Regions from separate parts of the Homo sapiens genome. Here region 1 is linked to region 2. Evidence: promoter capture Hi-C in 16 types of primary human blood cells and fetal thymus (Javierre and others, 2016). All regions are on one chromosome and are shown on one strand. The core of a region is centred on a gene start or on the middle of the fragment in contact, and the rest is flanking DNA. Distances in the headings are between cores, read along the strand shown. Region 1 has its middle 22 kb from the start of RHOU. Region 2 holds the start of TMEM78 (transmembrane protein 78).

Region 1 (6,347 bases), core at 1,452-3,951, 540 kb before region 2:
TTCTACCACAGGTACAAGGAGGAACTGGTACCATTCCTTTTGAAACTATTCCACTCAATAGAAAAAGAGTAAATCCTCCCTAACTCATTTTATGAGGCCAGCATCATCCTGATACCAAAGCCGGGCAGAGACACAACCAAAAAAGAGAATTTTAGACCAATATCCTTGATGAACATTGATGCAAAAATCCTCAATAAAATACTGGCAAACTGAATCCAGCAGCACATCAAAAAGCTTATCCACCATGATCAAGTGGGCTTCATCCCTGGGATGCAAGCCTGGTTCAATATACGCAAATCAATAAATGTAATCCAGCATATAAACAGAACCAAAGATAAAAACCACATGATTATCTCAACAGATGCAGAAAAGGCCTTTGACAAAATTCAACAACCCTTCATGCTAAAAACTCTCAATAAATTAGGTATTGATGGGACATATCTCAAAATAATAAGAGCTATCTATGACAAACCCACAGCCAATATCATACTGAATGGGCAAAAACTGGAAGCATTCCCTTTGAAAACTGGCACAAGACAGGGATGCCCTCTCTCACCACTCCTATTCAACATAGTGTTGGAAGTTCTGGCCAGGGCAATGAGGCAGGAGAAGGAAATAAAGGGCATTCAATTAGGAAAAGAGGAAGTCAAATTGTACCTGTTTGCAGACGACATGATTGTATATCTAGAAAACCCCATTGTCTCAGCCCAAAATCTCCTTAAGCTGATAAGCAACTTCAGCAAAGTCTCAGGATACAAAATCAATGTACAAAAATCACAAGCATTCTTATACACCAACAGACAAACAGAGAGCCAAATCATGAGTGAACTCCCATTCACAATTGCTTCAAAGAGAATAAAATACCTAGAAATCCAACTTACAAGGGATGTGAAGGACCTCTTCAAGGAGAACTAAAAACCACTGCTCAAGGAAATAAAAGAGGATACAAACAAATGGAAGAACATTCCATGCTCATGGGTAGGAAGAATCAATATCGTGAAAATGGCCATACTGCCCAAGGTAATTTACAGATTCAGTGCCATCCCCATCAAGCTACCAATGACTTTCTTCACAGAATTGGAAAAAACTACTTTAAAGTTCATATGGAACCAAAAAAGAGCCCGCATCGCCAAGTCAATCCTAAGCCAAAAGAACAAAGCTGGAGGCGTCACACTACTTGACTTCAAACTATACTACAAGGCTACAATAACCAAAAAAGCATGGTACTGGTACCAAAACAGAGATATAGATCAATGGAACAGAACAGAGCCCTCAGAAATAACGCCGCATATCTACAACTATCTGATCTGTGACAAACCTGACAAAAACAAGCAATGGGGAAAGGATTCCCTATTTAATAAATGGTGCTGGGAAAACTGGCTAGCCATATGTAGAAAGCTGAAACTGGATCCTTTCCTTACACCTTATACAAAAATTAATTCAAGATGGGTTAAAGACTTAAACGTTAGACCTAAAACCATAAAAACCCTAGAAGAAAACCTAGGCATTACCATTCAGGACATAGGCATGGGCAAGGACTTCATGTCTAAAACACCAAAAGCAATGGCAACAAAAGCCAAAATTGACAAATGGGATCTAATTAAACTAAAGAGCTTCTGCACAGCAAAAGAAACTACCATCAGAGTGAACAGGCAACCTACAAAATGGGAGAAAATTTTCACAACCTACTCATCTGACAAAGGGCTAATATCCAGAATCTACAATGAACTCAAACAAATTTACAAGAAAAAAACAAACAACCCCATCAAAAAGTGGGCAAAGGACATGAACAGACACTTCTCAAAAGAAGACATTTATGCAGCCAAAAAACACATGAAAAAATGCTCACCATCACTGGCCATCAGAGAAATGCAAATCAAAACCACAATGAGATACCATTTCACACCAGTTAGAATGGCAATCATTAAAAAGTCAGGAAATAACAGGTGCTGGAGAGGATATGGAGAAATAGGAACACTTTTACACTGTTGGTGGGACTGTAAACTAGTTCAACCATTGTGGAAGTCAGTGTGGCGATTCCTCAGGGATCTAGAACTAGAAATACCATTTGACCCAGCCATCCCATTACTGGGTATATACCCAAAGGACTATAAATCATGCTGCTATAAAGACACATGCACATGTATGTTTATTGCGGCATTATTCACAATAGCAAAGACTTGGAACCAACCCACACGTCCAACAATGATAGACTGGATTAAGAAAATGTGGCACATATACACCATGGAATACTATTCAGCCATACAAAATGATGAGTTCATGTCCTTTGTAGGGACATGCATGAAATTGGAAATCATCATTCTCAGTAAACTATCGCAAGAACAAAAAACCAAAAACCGCATATTCTCACTCATGGGTGGGAGTTGAACAATGAGAACACATGGACACAGGAAGGGGAACATCACACTCTGGGGACTGTTGTAGGGTGGGGGGAGGGGGGAGGGATAGCATTGGGAGATATACCTAATGCTAGATGACGAGTTAGTGGGTGCAGCGCACCACCATGGCACATGCATACATATGTAACTAACCTGCACATTGTGCACATGTACCCTAAAACTTAAAGTATAATAATAATAAATAAATAAATAAATAAAATAAAATAAAATAAAATAAAATAAAATAAAATAAAATAAAATACCCAAAGCTGGAGTTTGCATCTCCTGCAATGTTGCCATATACTGCCAGGGTCTGCCTGACCTAGTCGGATATCTGAGTCTGACTATATATATATAAAGGTATCGATTAATTTCTTTTTTCTTCCTTTTTTTTTTAACCAGGAATGGATGATGAATGTTGTGATATTTTAAGGTACATATTTGGTGTTTGACCCATTTCCTGGCATACAACTTCTAAAATTCTTGGAATTTCCAAAGTGATGTGTCTTTTTTATGCTATTGGGTTGACTGATGGCAGGCAACTCCTAGGTAGCTTCAGGTGGGGGCTGGTCACCAAAAAGACCAATGCAGGATTAGAGAGTTGGGATTTTCAGCCCCACTGCCCAATCTCCAGGGAGGGGAGATGCTGAAGGTTGAGTTGATCACCAGTGGCCAGTGGTTTAATCAATCATGCCTATGTAATAAAGCCTCCATAAAACTCCAAAGGGACTGGGTTCAGATATCTTGTGGATAGCTGAATATGTGGCGGTTTCAGTGCCCAGGGAAGGCATGGAAGCTCTGCTCCCCTTGCCATTCTGTAATTCTTTGTACTATCCTTTTTTTGTTTTTGGCATGCACCAACACACTCGGCTAATTTTTTTATTTCTACTTTTTGTAGAGATAGGGGTTCTCACTATGTTGTCTAGGCTGATCTCAAACTGTTGGCCTCAAGCAATCCTCCCACCTCGGCCTCCCAAAGTGCTGGGATTTACAGGTGTGAGCCACCACGCCCAGCCTGTAATATTCTTTATAATAAACTGGAAAAACATAAGTAAGTTCTATGAGCCACTCTAGCAAATTAATCAAACCCAAGGAGAGGTCATACGATGCCTGTTTTATAGTCAGTCAGTTAGAAGCATGGGCAAAACAACCTGGGGCTTGCTACTGGCATTGGAAGTGGGAGCAGTCTTATAGAACTGACCCAACTGTGGGATCTGACCCTATCTCCAGGTGGATGCTGTTAGAACTGAATTGAAGCATACTCAGCTTGTGTCTGCTGTAGATTTGATTGCTTGCTTGCTGTGTGGAGAAATCCCCACACATTTGGTCATGGAAGTCTTCTGTGTTGATTGTAGTATGAGAGTGGAGGAAGACCAGTTTGAGTTTTTTGTACTCTCAGAAGATGTTAAATATTATAAAAGGTTTTATAGCCTCTATGGAGACAATTACATGATTTTTCTCCTCAAATCTACTAATATGGTGTATTAATTGCATTAATGGGTTTCCTAATATTCCTAATTTGCTGGGTTTTCAGCAAATCAACTTTGAATTGCTGGAATAATTGCCACTTGGCCATGGTGTATTATTTTCTTAATGCGGTGTTGAATTCTGTTTATAAACAGTTTATTTTAAAATTTTGCATCAATTTTCATACATAATATTGGTTTGTAATTTTATTTTTTTCTGCTCTGTAACAAGTTCAGGAATCAATATTATACTTGCTTCACAAAAATAATTAGGAAAATATCCTTCATTTGCTCCGGAACAATGTAGAGATTACCTTATCTTTGAAGTTTTGGTAGAATTTCTCTCTGAAATGATCTAGGTCTCGTGCATTTTGGAGGATAGTTCCTTGATAACTTCCTCCACATATTCTATAGATACTAATCTGTTTAAGCTATGTAAATTTCAACAAGTCAATTTTGGCTAACTGTATTTCCTCAGGACGTTATCCATTTCACCTAATTTTTCAAATTTATTTGCACAGTTTTCAAAATAGCCTCTTGTGATTTATTTTCTCTTGTTTCAATAGTTATTTCTCCTTATTTCTTATTTTGTATTTTTGAATTCCTTCTTCTTTTTTTTCTTAAGTTAGCTAATGGCTTGTTTATTTTGTTAATTATCTTTTTTTTTTTTTTTTTTTTTGAGATGGAGTCTCACTCTGTCACCCAGGCTGGAGTGCAATGGCGTGGTCTCAGCTCACTGCAACCTCCGCCTCCCGGGTTCAAGCGATTCTTCTGCCTCAGCCTCCTGAGTAGCTGAGACTACAGGCACATGCCACCACACCTGGCTAATTTTTGTATTTTTAGAAGAGACGGGATTTCACTATGTTGGCCAAGCTGGTCTCAAACTCCTGACTTCGTGATCTGCCTGCCTCAGCCTCCCAAAGTGCTGGGATTACAGGCGTGAGCCACCGCGCCTGGCCAATTAACTTTAAACACCAGGAATTTGATTTGAAATAGATCTAACTAGATCTATTTTTTTTTTCCTGTCACACTAATTTCTTTTAGCTTCAATTTTTCTTTTGTTGTGTTTTCTTTCTTTTTTTTTCTGGCTTTCTGAGCTGGGAATTTAATTCATTTATTTAAAATCTTTGATTTTTATTGGTAAATGTGATTAAGGCTATGAATTTCCCTATGGTTACTGCTTTAAATAATCATATTTCAAATATCTCATATATTCTGATACACTGTGTTTTAATTATCAATATGTTTTAGAAATTTTATAATTTCATTTTATCTTTCTCTTTTCATCCAAGAGTCCTTAGAGAAAGCTTTTACATTTCTAGGTGAAATGGGCTTTTTTTGCTGCTTTTGTTGTCAATAATTTCTAGTTTTATTACACTGTGAACAAAAATTTGTTTTGATGGAATATTTGGTAATATTGGTAGAATATTCGGTAATATTTATACTTTATGGAACTTACTGATATTTTCTTTATGACCTGACATATAATCAATTTTGGGAATGATCCTTGTACCTTGAGAAGAAATTGTATTTTCTATTGTCAGGCTGAAAACTTTCATATACATTCTTAAGATGTACCGTATTGATTATAGTGTTTAGTTCTTCTATATCTTCATTTTAGTTCTATATCTTCATTTTAGTTCACTAGCTCTGTCTTATTCCCAGGGGGAATTACTAATCTCCCATTAGTAATGTGTTTTTATCTGTTTCTTGGCATCTCTTGTGATTATTATTTTATAATTGTGGTGGATTTTTTTTTGCATTATTTGATGTGATTCATGATAGAAATAGCTTCATTGTGATTTGTGACTTTTAGTTTTAAAAAGTATGAACTTTTTTTTTTTTTTTTTGAGACAAGGTCTCACTCTGTCACTCAGCCTGGAGTGCAGTGGCATGATCATGATTCACTGCAGTCAACATCTTAGGCTCAAGCAATCTTCCCACAGCAGACTCCCAAGTAGCTGGGACTACAGGTGTGCACCACCACACTCAGCTCATTAACAAAAATCTTTTTTGTAAATATAGGGGCCTTGCTTTGTTGCCCAGGGTGGTCTTGAACTCCTAGGCTCAAGCGATCCTCCTGCATTGGTCTTCCAAAGTGTTGGGATTACAGGCGTCAGCCACCACTCCAGGTGGACATTGTTTTAAAAAAGCCCGCTTTACTTTCTCTCTGGAATGCTTCCCCACACCTTGCCCCCTTCCTGTGGATAATTCCTGCTTATCTTTCCCACTGGGGTCCACTGTGGCATCCCACAACTCAAGTTGTCTCTGTCTTATCTTTCTCATAATTAATATATACACTCATTAAATCATTCTATATATGTTAAGTTCCTATGATGTGCCAGGCATGATTCCAAGTACTGAGGAAGAAGTTGTGAAAATAAAGCAAGGGACTTCCCTCAGGCAGCTCACCATCACCATTTATTGTCCTTTCCTAACATTTTACACACATTATAGTTTAATATCGTCTGCTTATCACCTA
Region 2 (5,689 bases), core at 2,699-5,198:
ACTGGGGTAAGTTAAAGATGTATATGTAGACCCTAGAGTAACCAGTAAAAAATAGAAATAGAACAAAGAGGCATAGCTAATAAGCTAAGAGCTGAGATAAAGTATAATTAGAAAAAATACTCAATTATTCCAAAAGAAGGCACGAGAAAAGAAAGAAGATGGGACAAACATGGGGTTGGGGTACAAATGCAGGATAGTAGATGGAACCCAGTTGTATCAAGAATTACATCAAATAAATGGTCTAAACATTCCAATTAAAAAGCAACAATTAGGTTGGCACAGAGGCACGTACCTGTAGTCCCAAATACTCAGGAGGCTAAGGCAGGAGGAGCCACTGAGCCCAGGAGTTTGAGGCTGCAGTGAGCTATTACCACACCACTGCACTTCAGCCTGTGTGACAGAGTGAGACTCTGTCAAAAAAAAAAAATTAAAAATTAAAGTAAAAAGCAGAATTGTCAGGTTAGCGTCAAAAAACAAAAAAGCAAGACTCAGTCTATGCTGTCTATAAGAAACCCACTTTAAATATAAAGACATAAATAGTTTAAAAGTGAAAGGCTGGGAAAAGATATGCCATACACACACTAATTGAAAAAAGCTAAAGAGGCTGTATTTATAGCAGACAGAGTAGTATTCAGGACAGAGAATATTACCAGGGATAAAGATGAACATCCTATTATGACGAGCAGGTCAATTCTTCAAGAAGACATAGCAAGATTAAATGTGTGTGCCCCTTATAACAGAGCATTAAAACACAGGAAGGAAAAACTAGTAGAAAGAGAAAATAGACAAATTCAAAATTATAATGGGAGATTCCAACATCTCTCTCTTATTAATTGATGGAATAAGTACACAGAAAATCAGAAAGGATATAGAAGATTTCAATAACATTAGCAACCAACTTAACCTAATTGACATATATAGAACACTTCATCCAACAATGGCAAAATGCAAATTCTTTTCAGGTGCTCATGGGACATTCACCAAAACAGACTACATTCTGGCCTGTAAACTAGATCTCAATAAATTTAAAATGATTAAATTCATACAAAGTATATTTTCTGATCTCAATAGAATTACATTAAAAATTAATAGGCCAGACGTGGTGGTTCACTCCTGTAATCTCAGCGCTTTGGGAGGCTGAGGCGGGTGGATTGCATGAGGCCAAGAGTTTGACATGGCAAAACCCTGCCTCTCCTAAAAAAATAGAGAAATTAGCCAGCCATGATGGTACATGCCTGGCTAATTTTTGTATTTTTTTTTTTTTAGTAGAGATGTGCCTGGCTAATTTTTGTACTTTTTTTAGTAATCCCAGCTATTCAGGAGGCTGAGGCATGAGAATCACTTGAACCCAAGAGGCAGAGGTTACAGTGAGCTGAGAACGTGCCATTGCACTCCAGCATGGGCAACAGAGCAAGACTCTGTCTCAAAACCAAAGAAAATTAATAACAGAAAAAAAAACTGATACTAGCCAGGGTTATCTAGAGTTTGGAGAAACAGCATTGCTGACAGGAAAATTAGCATAAGCTTTCTGAAGGCTAATTTGGCTCTATGTACCAGGAATTTAAGATGCACATCCCTCTAATCCAGCTATTCTATGTCTAGACATTTATGCTAAGAAAATAGCCATGGATGTGGGTAAAGATTTCAGTACCAGATTGTTCAAGACAAACCTAGTGGTCGGGCATGGTGGCTCGTGCCTGTAATCCCAGCACTTTGGAAGGCTGAGGTGGGTGGATTGCTTGAGCCCAGTAGTTTGAGACCAGCCTGGGCAACATGGTGAAACCCCGTCTCTACTAAAATAATAATAATACAAAACTTAGTTGAGTGTGGCGGTGTGTGCCTGTAGTCCCTGCTACTCAGGAGGCTGAGGGGGGAGGATCACTTGAACCCCAGAAGTGGAGGTTGCAGTGAGCCAAAATCACACCACTGCACTCCAGCCTGGGTGACAGAGTGAGACCCTGTCTCAAGAAAAAAAAAAAAAAAGACAAATCTATTGCTAGTAGCAAAAAGAAAATTTTTTTTGAAATATCTTAAATGTCCAATAATAGTAGATTAAATGTTTTGATATGTTCAAATAGAATACTATGTCATGATTTAAAATATCTTTATGGAAAAAATATTAGCATGGAAAAACATTCACCATAAAGTGTTCATGTGAAAGAAGTAGATTATGAAACAATACATACACTATATCCCAATAATGTGTGTGTGTGTGTGTGTGTGTGTGTGTGTGTAGAAGGCTAAAAAGCATATATTTCTGTTTTAGTCTGTGCTGCTGTAACAAAATATCACAGACTGGGTAATTTATCAACAATAGAAGTGTATTTGTCACAGTTGTGGAGACTGGGAAGCCCAAGATCAAGGCACCAGCATGTCTGATGTCTGCTGAGGGCTGCTCTCTGCTTCTGTGATGGCACCCTGTTGCTGAGGGAGAAGACAAACCCTGAGTCTTCACTTGGTGGAAGAGAAGAAGGGGCTGAACTGGCTCCCTCAAGTCCTTTTATGAGGCATTAATCCAATCATGCGAGCAGAGTCCTCACGGTCTAATCACCTCCTAAAGACCTCACCTCTTTCTTAATACTGTTACATTGGGGATTATCTTTCAACTCGAATTTTGGTTTTGTTTGTTTGTTTGTGACAGAGTCTCGTTCTGTCACCCAGGCTGGAGTGCAGTGGTGCAATCTCAGCTCACTGCAACCTCCGCCTCCCAGGTTCAAACGATTCTTGTGCCTCAGCCTCCTGAGTAGCTGGGATTACAGGCATGCACCGCCACGCCTGGCTAATTTTTTGTATTTTTAGTAGAGTTGGGGTTTCACCATGTTGGCCAGGCTGGTCTAGAACTCCTGAGCTCAGGCAATCCACCTGCCTCAGCCTCACAAAGTGCTGGGATTACAGGGGTGAGCCACCGCGCCCGGCCTCAGCATGAATTTTGGAAAAGACACAAACATTCAAGCCAAAGCAATATCCTTATGTTAATTCCAGTTATCTCTGACCATGGAATAATGGATAACTATAATTTTATTCTTTGTGCTTCTCTGTACAATCCAATTTCTCTCTACAATAAATATGTATTGCTTTCAGAATCAATGAAAATAAGTTGCATTTAAGAAAAAATTTTTCTCTTCTTCCCAGTTTGAAATACATTTTCTTTAAATTCAAGTCTACTGCCACATTAGGCAGGTTTTGTTTCTTTTTTGTTTGTTTAAATGAAACAAGTAACTGTTCAGCAAGTGGCTAAGAATAACCTCTCCAGGCAGTGGTAAGAAGTAGGAAGTAGGGAAAGAGAGAAAAGAGCTACTCAGGGTCAAAAGAGGCACCGACAGGGTTGGGGGTGGAGTTCAGAATGCCAGGTTAGCTGCCAAGGTACAGAGAGAGAAAGACAGAAACAGAGAGAAAAGGAGGGAGAGAGAGAGACAGAGCAGAGAGGGAGGGAGAGAAGAGAGCACACGTGTGTGCTTTGACCAGCAGGCCAGGATGGGGCTGTTTTCCTCTCCTGTGTCTGCCCCCACCTTGCAGGATCATTTGGAGTCATTGCAGGGCTAGCTTAGCTCTGCCTGAGTCACCCCCAACAGGTAAACTTCTACCAGCAGAGTCTCTCCTTTCGGTTAAAGAGTTGCTTATAGATCTCGTGGTTTTTCAGTTAACATCCTCAGGATCCCCACTTCAGCTCCCACCTTCTTTCCCAGGTCTGGCCTCCCTAGTCCCAGTTTTGGCTCCATCATCCTATTTCCTTCACTCCTTTCCTCCAGCTTCTTCCCAGCTTCTTCCCTTCGTGCATCTGCACCTCAGCTTCCCAGTGCTCTGTGTTCACTTTGCTCATCGCTCGGGCTTCAGCATCTCCCACTATGTTGGTTGATAATTCCCCACCAGAGAGCCACACACCCCTGAGGAAGAAGGGAGAAGCCAGAGGTTTCTGGAAAATCCAGGAGGCGGAGCAGGCTGGAATGGAAGGTAGAGACAACCATGAAAGTTGAACACGTCATCTGTGCAGGACCGTTCATACTGACATGTGGCTTGACACCAGAAATCTGGGTATTGTAATATCATGTTGGAAAGGAGTTTGTGTGCCTCAAACAACTACTCTAGAGATGTTTTACAATGACAATGATAGAGTAGAGGAATCTTCTAATTCCTACCAAATCAGAAGGGAATTCCTCCTTCCTGCCTGCCTGCCTGCCTTCCTTTCTTTCTCTACTTCCTTTTCTTTCTTTCTTTCCTTCCTTCCTCTCTCTCTTTCTCTCTTTCTTCCTTTCTTTCCTTCTTTCTTTCTTTCTCTCTCTCTCTCCCCTTCCTTCCTTCCTTCCTTCCTGAGACAAGGTCTTGCTCTGTCTCCCAGGCTAGAATGCGATGGTGCAATCATGATTCACTGCAGCCTCAACATCCCAGGCTCAAGTGATCCTCCCACCTCAGCCTCCTGAGTAGCTGGGACTACAGGGGCTTGCCACCACGCCCAGCTAATTTGCGTGTGTGTGTGTGTGTGTGTGTGTATGTGGTAGAGATGGGGTCTCACTATGTTGCCCAGCTGGTCTCAAACTCCTGGTCATAAGCAATCCTCCACCTCGGCCTCCCAAAGTGTTGGGATTACACGTGTGAGCCACCATGCCCAGTCTCTATTTCTTAATAGTGTCAGCAACTGAAAGATATAGAAAAGGAAGTCTGTTTGGTGTGTCTGTTGCCTCCCCAAAATCTTCAGCCTTTGTAGGACAGTGCATCCCACTGGGCAAAACCAGAGAATATTCTTTTGTGAGCCCGTAAGTAATTGTCTGCAATAGACATGCAGGGGCCTCTACTGTCATCTCTTATGCAACTGAACTTCCTAAAAACTGTGGTGTTTATCTCTTCTGTTGCTCAGCACTGCTGGGACTGGGACTGCAAAAAACAAAAAAGCACCCAGGTTTACTGCCCTTAAAAAACTGACTGCTAGAGGAGATGAGCATATACATGACAGGATGTGATAAGATATTAAGCAGAATGTGATCAGAATCATAGGAAGTATATACAAAAGATGGGAACACTAATAGAGGTGACTACAACCACCTGCTTTGTAGAGGAGATGACATTCAAGCTGAGTTTTAAAGGATGAGTAGGAGTTGGCCAGAAATGGAGAGGGAGAATAAACCATGGGGAAGTAGTACACAGGCATGGCATGTTTAGAGCATTTTTGGAGCAGGGTAACCAGAATATACTGGAGGTTGCTAGTAGAGGAGATTGGAAAAGAAAGGGTCAGATTATTAATGGATTTACGTATTATGCAAAGAAGTTTATATTTGACCCTTTTTTTGACAATCTGGCATTTAGCCTTATCATAAAATAAAGATCTCTCAATGCTTCACATAGAAACTTCATCTGATCTCTTGAGGATCAAAAAATGGCTTTCTGGGTTTTTTTTCTTTCTCTCTCTCTTTTGTTTTTAATATCTCACATATACTTTAACCACCATAAATTCAAGTTTTCTCTTACTCAGACATGAGTTGCTTAACAATGGAATAATTCATTTCTTTATTTCTCAACATTGCCCTTTTGAAGGTTTTAGGTTTTAGGTTTTCTAAAACTCTGAATACTTTTGGCTATCATTATCCAGGGAAAGCCTGAAGACACTCCAAAGCACAAGGACAAAAGAGACCTTGTTAGATCTAATTAAGCGCTCCAGCACCAGGGGCACGGGGAGCAAGAGAAAAATACAGAGTCA

What was found. Contacts are between HindIII fragments. The CHiCAGO score rates a contact against its expected background, and 5 or more counts as called.
Region 1: a fragment that was not itself captured here is called in contact with the fragment with the promoter of TMEM78 in region 2 in 9 of 17 cell types (M2 macrophages, total CD4 T cells, total CD8 T cells and 6 more); the score reaches 9.7 in M2 macrophages.

What each region holds. Positions count from the first base shown.
Region 1 is chr1:228,710,218-228,716,564 of GRCh38, forward strand. It overlaps a transcript of RHOU not described here. Among named protein-coding and RNA genes, the nearest start is that of RHOU, 22 kb to the right of the region's middle. The HindIII fragment of the contact is 4,938 bases long and covers 233-5,170 here.
Region 2 is chr1:229,245,688-229,251,376 of GRCh38, forward strand. TMEM78 (transmembrane protein 78) reads left to right here and starts at 3,949. Exons shown (of 1, transcript NR_172940.1): 1 at 3,949-5,689. The region is part of intron 1 of LOC102723935 (a long non-coding RNA gene); the gene reads right to left. The HindIII fragment of the contact is 6,724 bases long and covers 1,523-5,689 here.